3 separate regions of the Homo sapiens genome follow, and regions 1 and 2 are each linked to region 3. The links are contacts of gene promoters, found by promoter capture Hi-C in blood cells and fetal thymus (Javierre and others, 2016). All regions are on one chromosome and are shown on one strand. The core of a region is centred on a gene start or on the middle of the fragment in contact, and the rest is flanking DNA. Distances in the headings are between cores, read along the strand shown.

Region 1 (3,301 bases), core at 153-2,652, 6.3 Mb after region 3:
ATGGATTTCCAGAAACCAGCCTCACTCTTGGGATGCTGGCACAGATGCGTATGTCATTACCTTTGCCAGAAAGAGCCTTAAAGGAAACATTAGGAAAAAATATGCATTAGATCCCTAACAAGAATAGAAGCCACGTCTTTAGTAACATGTTACTTTAGATAAGTTTAGCACGCGATCCTTTCAAATTATTTTCATTATTGTAGAGAACAATAAAAAGGGTGTGGGTTCAAAAAAGAGTTTTCAGATGGGCCTTGGTGGAGAGGAACTGGCTGCTATTCAGCTAGGGAGTGTCACCTGAGTGAAATGTGTTCCCGCTATGCAGGCTTGCAGCCTCAAATCTGTGATTTTCCCATCCCCAATCTCCACATTTCAGGACCCTCAACACCAACCCCTATAAGTCTCCTAATCAGACACGCATAGTGCCCCCAATCACTGGCCTCCAATCTCCAACCCTCAGAGGTTTTCATAGTCACTGATATTCCCCTATGTTCAAATCTGACCAGGAGAGACTACAGGTCAGTAACTACAAAGAACACCGATCCGATCTGATTGCCAGTGAAATTACACAGCCCCCAATCATGAATCCACACTGATTGCCAATGATATCCCAACGACTGAGGATCAATTGTTGATTCTCACAGTCCCACTCCCACCCACAAGTGACAGTCCGAATCACTGAGCCTCATTGAGGCGTACCTTTAAGATAAGCACACTTGACTCTATTCTCCATTCCCTGATCTACAAAAGTCCAATCGTTAATACTCTCCGATCCTCCACCGATGATATGAAGTAAGTCTCAATCACCGATGGCCCAAAACATTTCTCCAAACATTCATCACCACTGACCTCCCTCATTTGAACCCCAAAGTTTCCACAATCACCAATTCCAGTACCCAAACTATTACTGCCCACAGAACTTAGAACCTCCGATCACTGATCCTCTCGGGCTCCGATCATTAACCTTAAAGATCTCTAAACCAGTGTCTGAAAAATCCCAACTGACCCCAGACCCATGAAGACCACTATTACTGACCCCATGCACCCTGAAAATCAAGACATTTCACAGAACTCGCATTTATTGATTCCCACACACTCCCAATCCATCTTCTTCAGAGACCGTGCCACTGACTCCCGCAAACCTCTGTCCGCCACCACTGAGGCCCCGCGAGGCTCAGACGCCGAATCTCTTAACCCTTCAGTTCCCTTGTCATTGACCCTCACGGGCACCCATAGCTGACCCAGTCGGCCACCGTAGTCGGCAGCTCACTATCCTCCACTAGTCCCAGGTTTGACCGTTTCTCAAACCGTGCCTTCCCATTTATGCTGCATCCGCGCCCTGAATCTGAAATTGGTCGTCCTGCCACGCCGCCTCACCGCGGTATAAGGTCGTCCCATCCTGAATGGCCGGTGCGCAGACTCAATTGCGACTTTGAGGCTGTCAGCCGCCACCCGGCAACCTTCCAGTGAACAGGATTCTGGGTTTCTCAAAGCTGTAATTGGAGGTATGATGGCGACGCCCACTTGACTCCTACCTGGGGCGGCCATGTTTAAAACTGTGCCGTAAAACGGATGATTAAGCCCTTTGCTAGACCAAAAGATAAGGCTATTTTAGGACAAGGAGAAGGAAGTGTCCCTGGATCCCTAAACAGAGATGTCGTCTCTGCTCTTAACTCAGCATCTCAGATGCCAAAACCTCCTGTGGCCAACATGGTGGCGCCCAGACATCAAAGCTGAGCTTTCTTTGTCTCCGGCAGCCTGGTAAGATGGCCGCGTACATTTTTACCGCTTCTTACGTGCAATGGGTGCAGCCTCTCCTAGGAGCTCCCCTATGGCAATGTGAAACTCTTTCTGAGCCAGCTCTAGGAGTTAGAGAGCAGCGAAGAGACTCGCTCTTAGGGAGACAGAGACAGCCTAAGGACGGGCGTGACTTCACGGAAAGGGCGGAGCCGCAAGGAAAGGGCGGGGCTGCCGCAGCGGGAAGAGATCAGAGTTCTTAGCGCATAATGGAAAGGAAATGTTGAAAGCAAGGTTTTTACCTAAGGAGGCTTGCCCGAGAAGCCGACCTGAGGAAAGAATGAGTGCAAGCAGTTTATTTGGTAGGTGGGGGATGGAGAAGTGAGACGGGAGCGATGGGAACGAATATACAGTGCATAGGTGAGCAGATTAGCTCTGGATCAATGAGGGCTCAGTCAGCTTGGGACCTCTGGGGGATTGTGTAGAAACCACTTCCAAGTTTTCACAACCACCAGGCCGATGAAGCTTACATATGTCTACACCATCTCTCTTCCTAATTGTTTTAGGGCCACTCCAGAGGTGTTAAAGCTCCAGCACTTCGAGCCTGCCTCGTGGGAAAGTCTTAGGCTGAGTCTGTAGGTGTCTGCAGTTAAGAAGCCAGCGGTCTGCATATGATTGCTCAGGGGTGGTGGCTGGGTCCAACAGCATTCACTACAGGCCTGCCTTGAATACCACCTAGCGCAGTGCTCCGCATATCACAGGTATTGGAACATCTCTAGAAAAGATTGCCTTGTCTTATGAAAATGGCTTTTTAAAAAAATCCTAATTCCAACTGGTCATCCTAGCAACTGATACAATAACTGACCTCAAAATGTTTCCCAATGATTCCTACCTCCTACTATTCACACTCTTATGTAGTTCCCTCCCACATTGTACCAGGGTTGGACTGTGAGACTAATAGAATGCAGTAGCAGTGATAGATGTCACTGCTGAGATTAAATATAATAAATGGCACCTTGAGTTCTGTCTTAAAGGCTGCTGCCCCCACTTTGAGAGAAGTTAGTTGCCATGTCATGAGGATACCGAGACAGCCTATGGAGAGGCCCAGGTAGCAAGGAACTAAGCCCTCCACCCAATAGCCTGGGAGTAGCTGGGGCCTTCCTATAACCAAGTGTATCACCCTTGGAAGCACATCTCCCAGCCCCAGTCAAACCTTGAGATGACAGCAGCCCCTGCCAATAGTTTGACTGCAACTGCGTGAGAGACACAGTCACAAGCACTCAGCTATAGCAGCTCCTATATTCCTCACCCTCAGAAAGTGTGTAAGATACTACATGTTTGTTGTTTTAAGCTTCTGAGTTTAGGGTAATTTGCTATGCATCAGTAGATAACTTCAATGCTGTGTTAAAATGCTACAATTGACATTTCTTCTTTTTTTTTTTTTTTGAGACGGAGTTTCGCTCTTGTTGCCTAGGCTGGAGTGCATTGGTGCAATTTCAGCTCACCGCAACCTCTGCCTCCCGGGTTCAAGCGATTCTCCTGCCTCAGCCTCCTGAGTAGCTGGGAT
Region 2 (3,172 bases), core at 672-3,171, 6.6 Mb after region 3:
GTCTATCCAAACCCTGACTCACACTCCACTCCCACTTGATCATGGGGCCCACCAACACTGGCATTTAGTCCTTCAAACACACCAAGCTTTTCCCCATCAGAACCTTCACAGGGGTTCTTCTCTCTGCCTGGAGTTTTCTTCTCTAGTAAAACATTAAACAAGACCTAGTGGCAAGCCTAGTACTACATTAATTCTGAAGTAGTGATGAGCATAAATATTTCAATATGCCTACAATAACAGTAAAATAATATGAACGTATCTGTGATTTCCATTAATGTCAAAGTCACAGTAACTACTACTACTACTACTGCTACTATGGTTTGTCCCATACATCACGATAGGAAGAAATGTTATATCTCAATTAGAGGTTATTAAATATAAAGATGTATTTTTGGTCTGGGCACAGTGGTTCATGCCTGTAATCCCAGCACTTTGGGAGACCAAGGCAGGTGGATCATGAGGTCACAAGTTCAAGACCAGCCTGGCAAAGATGGTGAAACCCCATCTCTACTAAAAATACAAAAATGAGCCGGGCGCAGTGGCAGGCGCCTATAATCCCAGCTACTCAGAAGGCTGAGGCAGTAGAATCGCTTGAACCTGCGGGGTGGAGGCTACAGTGAGCTGAGATCACACCACTGCACTCAAGCCTGGGTGACAGAGTGAGACTCCGTCTCAAAAAAAACCAAAAAGATGTATTTTTTTCTTCTCATCCAAGTTCATGGACTCCCTGAATTCTACCTAAAGGAATCCAAAGTTAGGAACCCCTAGAGCAAGAATGATCCTTTGCAAACATGATAATATCACTCTGCTAAATCATTCAATGGATTTACACCTCATTCGGAGTAAAATTCAAGGTCCACAAGACCCAAAATCATCTACAGGTACATCCAACTCCCATCCTGACCTGCACCCAGCATGCAAACACTCATAAGCCTGCTACTTTCCTGATCTCCTCTTCTACAATTCCCGCTTTGCTCATTCAATTTCAGCCATAATGGTGGCTGCCAAAAAGCTCTGAACTCGAGTACTTGGCTCTTCCTGTTCCCTTTGCCTGAATCTCTCCTAGCAGATATTTACATTACCTGTTCCCTCACTTCCTTCAAGTCTTCACTAAAAGAACACCTCATCAGAGAGGCCCTCTCTAGCCTCTCTTCACAGCACTTATCTATCACCCACCACCTGACATTTCATATACACATGGACATATAATAATATAGAAATATTATTAATATATGATATATATTTATACTATACCAATATATTAGTTACATGTAGATAAATGTAAGTGATATATAATTCTAAAAATATTTATATATCATATAATATTAATGTCATGCTAATATTGTTTTATACATATATACTTGACATTCATGTTTATCTTCTGCTATGGTTTGAATGTCTCTCCTTCAAAATTCAGCTGTTGCCAATGTGATAGTATTAAGAGGTGGGGGCCAGACACAGTGGCTCAAGCCTTTAATCCTAGCACTTTGGGAGGCCAAGGTGGGTGGATCGCTTGAACCCAGGAGTTAGAGACCAGCCTGGGCAACATGGCGAAACCCTGTCTCTACAAAAAATAGAAAAATTAGCTGGGCGTGGTGACGTGTGCCTGTGGGCCGAGCTACTCGGGAGGCTGAGGTGGGAGGATCACCTGAGCCCGGGAGGTTGAGGCTGTGGTGAGCCATGATTGTGCCGCTGCACTCCAGCCTGGGTGACAGAGTGAGACCCTGTCTCAAAAAAAAAAAAAAAATTCCAAAAACGAAGAGGTGAGGCCTTTAAGAGATGATCGGGCTTCAAGGACCCATCCCTCAAGGATGGGTTTCGGTGCTCTTACGAAGGGGCTTGATGGAAGGAGTTGGCTCTCTTGCCCTACTGCCTTCTGCCACACGAAGATGCAAGAAGGCCCTCATCAGATGACAGTGCCTTGATCTTAGAATTCTTAGCCTCCAGATCTATGAGAAAATAAATGTCTGTTCTTTATAAATTACTCGATGTGAGGTATTCTGCTGTAACAGCACAAAATGGACTAAGACATTTTCTCTCTTACCCTCTAGAATGTAGGCTTCAGAAGTGCAGAACTTTAGAATGCCTTCATGAATACTACAGTCCCAGCCCTTGGACCAATGCTTGGTACATAGTAGTGCTCAATAAGTACTCTTCTGGTTCTCCTACTTCATCCCAAATCTCTCCTGCTCTGCCACCTCTTCCTTTTTAATATAGGCACAGATCCTTTTTTTTTCTTGGCCCCAACAATATCTCTATACATAGTGATTGCAGTCACTTCCAAGGCTCCACCTACTACTTCAATAGGGATTAATTCCACTTCTACATAGTTAGCCTTTGACTTTCTGCTAAACTCCTTATCTCATTTCTCTTTTATACTACTCTACTTTGTGGAAGTCATATATGTATATATTTTAGCACCACTTTTGGACCTTGAATTTGTAAAGGTAACACAATTAGTAAACTGTAGCACCTGGAAGATTCCCTTACACAAACCAGGAAATTAAAAAACGTTCCATAAAGGAAACATTGAAGACAGTCTGATAAAACAGGTCACTGACAGGCAGCTATAATGAAGACCAGTACTTGGGCAAGGGGTGTGTGTGTGTGTGTCTCTGTGTGTGTGTGTGTGTGTGTGTGTGTGTGTGTGTGTGTGTTCACATGTGTGTATACAGACGCAATTATATTATTTTGGGGAGTGGTAGTAGAAAACACCTGTACAAGTCTAAAAAATGCAGAAGAGGGGCCGGACGCGGTGGCTCATGCCTGTAATCCCAGCACTTTGGGAGGCTGAGGCGGGTAGATCATGAGGTCAGGAGTTCAAGAACAGCCTGGCCAATATGGTGAAACCCCACCTCTACTAAAAATACAAAAATTAGCTGGGCATGGTGGCATGCGCCTGTAGTCCCAGCTACTCAGGAGGCTGAGGCAGAAGAATCGCCTGAACCCGGGAGGCAGAGGTTGCAGTGAACCAAGATCGCACCCTGCACTCCAGCCTGAGCGACGGAGCGAGACTCCGTCTCAAAAAAAAAAAAAAATGCAGAAGAAGAAAAAGAATTAGCCAGGCATGGTGGCACAGGCCTACGGTCCCAGCCACTTGGAAGGCTGAGGCAGGGAGACTGCCTAAGCCCAGAAGTTTGAGCCTACAATAAGTTATGATCATGTCACTGCA
Region 3 (3,300 bases), core at 228-2,727:
TGCAGTCCCAGCACTTTGGGACGCCAAGGCCAGAGGAACACCTGAGCCCAGGACTTCAAGGTTGCACTGAGCTATGACTATACTACTGCACTCAGCCTGGGCAACAGAGTGAGACCTTGTCTCTAAAAAAAGTTAAAAAAAAATTTTAATTATGACTACAGAAAAGATAAAAAATAATGTTTATATAACACCACCTAATTACTAATCTCTTCAAATAATCATAGTATAAAATAATGCTCTAATAGCAATCTACAAGAGGTGCCTTTCTATAACTCTTCAGTGCATCATAATGCACTGAAGTATTTGAACAATTTGCCATATGAACAGGTGGGTAAGAATTGTGGAGAAGAACAATAGGGGGCCACTGGGAGGAAATATGTACCAGCATGGCGGGTCATGTAACTGGGAAAACCCAGTCAAGATATTTCAGGCCAAGGAAAGAAAATGTTCTCATGACCTAGAAGCAAAGGTAATTGTATGTGTATGTATTTAAAAAGTATGTATAAAAAACCTCACCTGAACCTTGATTTCTAAACATGCAAAAATCCTTTTCTCCTCTTCAAACTCCTTCTTAGAAATCTGGCAACCTGGCAGCACTGGGGGAAAAAACAGTAACATGAGACATCAGCATTTCTAGCGCGTCACAGACTTAATTAAAAAAGAAAAAGAAGAGCAAAACACCCTCTGGGGCCACTTCTGCCTTCATCCACACAAAACCAAACGGAATGAAAAGGGAGGCTAGAGTCTGTCTCTGTGTTGAGGGCAATTCTTGGGGACAGAGGTCTGCTTGCAATGGCTCTGAAACATGTAGCTCACCACCAAAGAGCTCCTAGAGGCCCCTCTTCTAGGAATCCCACCTCTAGAACTTCCCCATCAGGTCTTGACAAGATCCTGTCCCGCGGACACTTCCAGATCTAAAATTCTCATCCTTCTTGCTTGAAACGTTCATTATGGGGCTTAGCATAGACTTCTTTCTTGCGGTCATTTAATTGTGGCAGGCCCGAAGACAGGCTAAAGGGAACCTAGAGCATTTGGTCAAAGCAAATCACATTTACAAATACGGCCACGCACCCTGTCAGCCCGTCACACATTCACAACTGCACCCACCTCCGTGGGGACACGCCCCGTCCCTGCCACGCCGTCTGAGACACACTGTCCCTCGGCTGCTCGCGTGCACACAGGCTTGAGGATCCGGACACGACACGCTCTGTCCGTGACCCAGCCCTCCCCACCTCCAGCACCCCCGATGCCACCCCCACCCTCACTGCCGGTTCCAGTCGGGCCCCAGTAAAGCCAGCCGAGCCCTCCCAGCTTCACCCGGGCTGATTACTTCTACAGACACGACCAACTCACCATGCAGAGTCCAAGAACCTTAAGGACACCGGAAAAGGACCCAGAGACCTGTGGTTAGTTTGGACCCAGAGGCTGATGGGAAACAAGAGCCTGGAAATGCTCGCAGGCTGGGAGAGGAGCTTCTGGCAGGCAAGCTCGCCCCGCCCCTAAAAGGCCTGTGCCCCGGAGACTTCTGGGAAATGTAGTCCACAGCGGCAGAGTCTCCGGAAGTTGAAACCTGGACAGCAGGGATGCTCCCAGCATGCAACTTGGCTTCACCTGTCAAAGGCGCTTTTTTCGAAGACGCCCGGGAGCTCTTGCTTTTGCTTGAGGGTCTTTGGTGTTGACTGAGAGCGAATTAAAAGGTTCTCAGCTTTCGCTAAGGAACGCATTCTGGAGTCTAGAACAGGCGAAGATGGGACTGGGGTGTCTGGGGACTTAGACGTGAGCGAGCAAGGGAATCCGGGGTAAGTTCGCTGGAAATGACCTGCGCGACACTACCAGTTTACCTGGGTATGAGCGCCTGGAACAGTGTCTGGCAATTGAACAGATGGGTGTGTCTTGCTGTGAGGGAGTTTCTTAGTTCGATTCGGTGTCTGGGACCCTGCGTGGACCTGTTTATGTTCATGGGATGTTTTCTAAATTTATGCCTGTGTGAGTCTGTTTTATTAGGTGTGAGATGAACTGTGTTACAGATTTTATATGCCGCTGTTGAAAGACAACAATAAGTGGTAGTGAGTGGATATTGTGACCGTGGAGACTTATGGCAGTGCAAAGGCGGCCATAAACAATGCACAAGCAATCCAGCATGGCTGTGTTCCAATAAAACTTGATGGATTATAAAATTTGAATCTCATTTTTTATAGAGTATGAAACCATTTATTCTGAAGCACACACTCATACTCCAAAAACAATACTATATATTCCCTCTCTCTCTCTCCTGTGTGTTTGCGTGTGTGTGTGTGTGGGTGTGTGAGAGAGAGAAAGGTTTTAAAGGAGACAACTAACTGATTCTGAGGTTAGGGCAAAAAGATTGGGGCTGTGGTTGGTGTGGTAAGAACCTTTGGATATAAATACTTTTTTAAAAAAGAATTGTCTAAAAATATTAAAGCGAAATTTTATATTAAAACTAACAGAAAGAAAAGGAAGTTACTTTTTAGGGGCTCTTTCTGGTCACTGATATCACCTCTCTCATCCTCTGCCATCTCTCACCTCCTGGTCTCTCTTGCTTATCAAGAGAAGACTAGAGCTCTTGGATCCCAGCTTTTCCCCTGCCTCAGCTGAGGCCACTACCCTGGTTGACTCCCATGGTGACATGGATGCCTCATCCAGTATCGTGGGTCTGAGTCCTCATCTGCAGGGTCCTTGAGCTTTCCTCGGCACCCATCCCCGTTTCCCATCTGGGACTTCATTATCATCAGCATCTGCTCCACCTCCAAAACCACTGGTGGAAGCAGCCTCCTCTCTTCCCATGTTACTTGCTCAATGACTCCCACAAGTACTACTCTGAATATTTTGGGGGTCTGATTTTTTTTTAATTTTTTATTTCCATAGGTTTTTGGGAAACAGGTGGTGTTTGGTTACATGAGTAACTTCTTCAGTGGTGATTTGTGAGATTTTGGTGCACCCATCACCTGAACAGTGTACATGGCACCCAATTTTTAGTCTTTTATCCCTCACCCCCTTTCCACCCTTTCCCCCAAGTCCCCAAAGTCCACTGTGTCATTCTTAGGCCTTTGCATCCTCACACCTTAGCTCCCACTTATGAGTGAGAATATACGATGTTTGATTTTCCATTCCTGAGTTGCTTCACTTAGAATAATAGTCTCCAGGCCGGGCATGGTGGTTCACACCTGTAATCCCAGCACTTTGGGAGGCTGAGGCAGCTGGATCACCTGAAGTCAAGAATTCAAGACCAGCCTGGCCAACATGATGAAACCCTGTCTCTACTAAAAATACGAAAATTAG

What was found. The method cuts DNA at HindIII sites, captures the fragments that hold promoters and counts their contacts. A CHiCAGO score of 5 or more calls a contact.
Region 1: the fragment with the promoter of ZNF793 here is called in contact with the fragment with the promoter of ZNF283 in region 3 in 1 of 17 cell types (non-activated CD4 T cells); the score reaches 5.7 in non-activated CD4 T cells.
Region 2: a fragment that was not itself captured here is called in contact with the fragment with the promoter of ZNF283 in region 3 in 8 of 17 cell types (non-activated CD4 T cells, total CD4 T cells, naive CD8 T cells and 5 more); the score reaches 24.1 in non-activated CD4 T cells.

Annotation. Positions count from the first base shown.
Region 1 is chr19:37,505,040-37,508,340 of GRCh38, reverse strand. It overlaps ZNF793 (zinc finger protein 793), which reads right to left and starts at 1,402. Exons shown (of 8, transcript NM_001013659.3): 1 at 1,375-1,402; 2 at 1-76. ZNF793-AS1 (ZNF793 antisense RNA 1) reads left to right here and starts at 1,254. Exons shown (of 3, transcript NR_110723.1): 1 at 1,254-1,502; 2 at 2,301-2,495. RefSeq lists enhancers at 1,186-1,335, 901-1,692, 1,693-2,484. The HindIII fragment of the contact is 7,284 bases long and covers 1-2,261 here.
Region 2 is chr19:37,236,440-37,239,611 of GRCh38, reverse strand. The region is part of intron 5 of ZNF383 (zinc finger protein 383); the gene reads right to left. Among named protein-coding and RNA genes, the nearest start is that of LINC01535, 14 kb to the left of the region's middle. The HindIII fragment of the contact is 3,665 bases long and covers 89-3,172 here.
Region 3 is chr19:43,825,498-43,828,797 of GRCh38, reverse strand. ZNF283 (zinc finger protein 283) reads right to left here and starts at 1,477. Exons shown (of 7, transcript NM_181845.2): 1 at 1,354-1,477; 2 at 517-596. RefSeq lists an enhancer at 1,420-1,619. The HindIII fragment of the contact is 6,325 bases long and covers 1-3,300 here.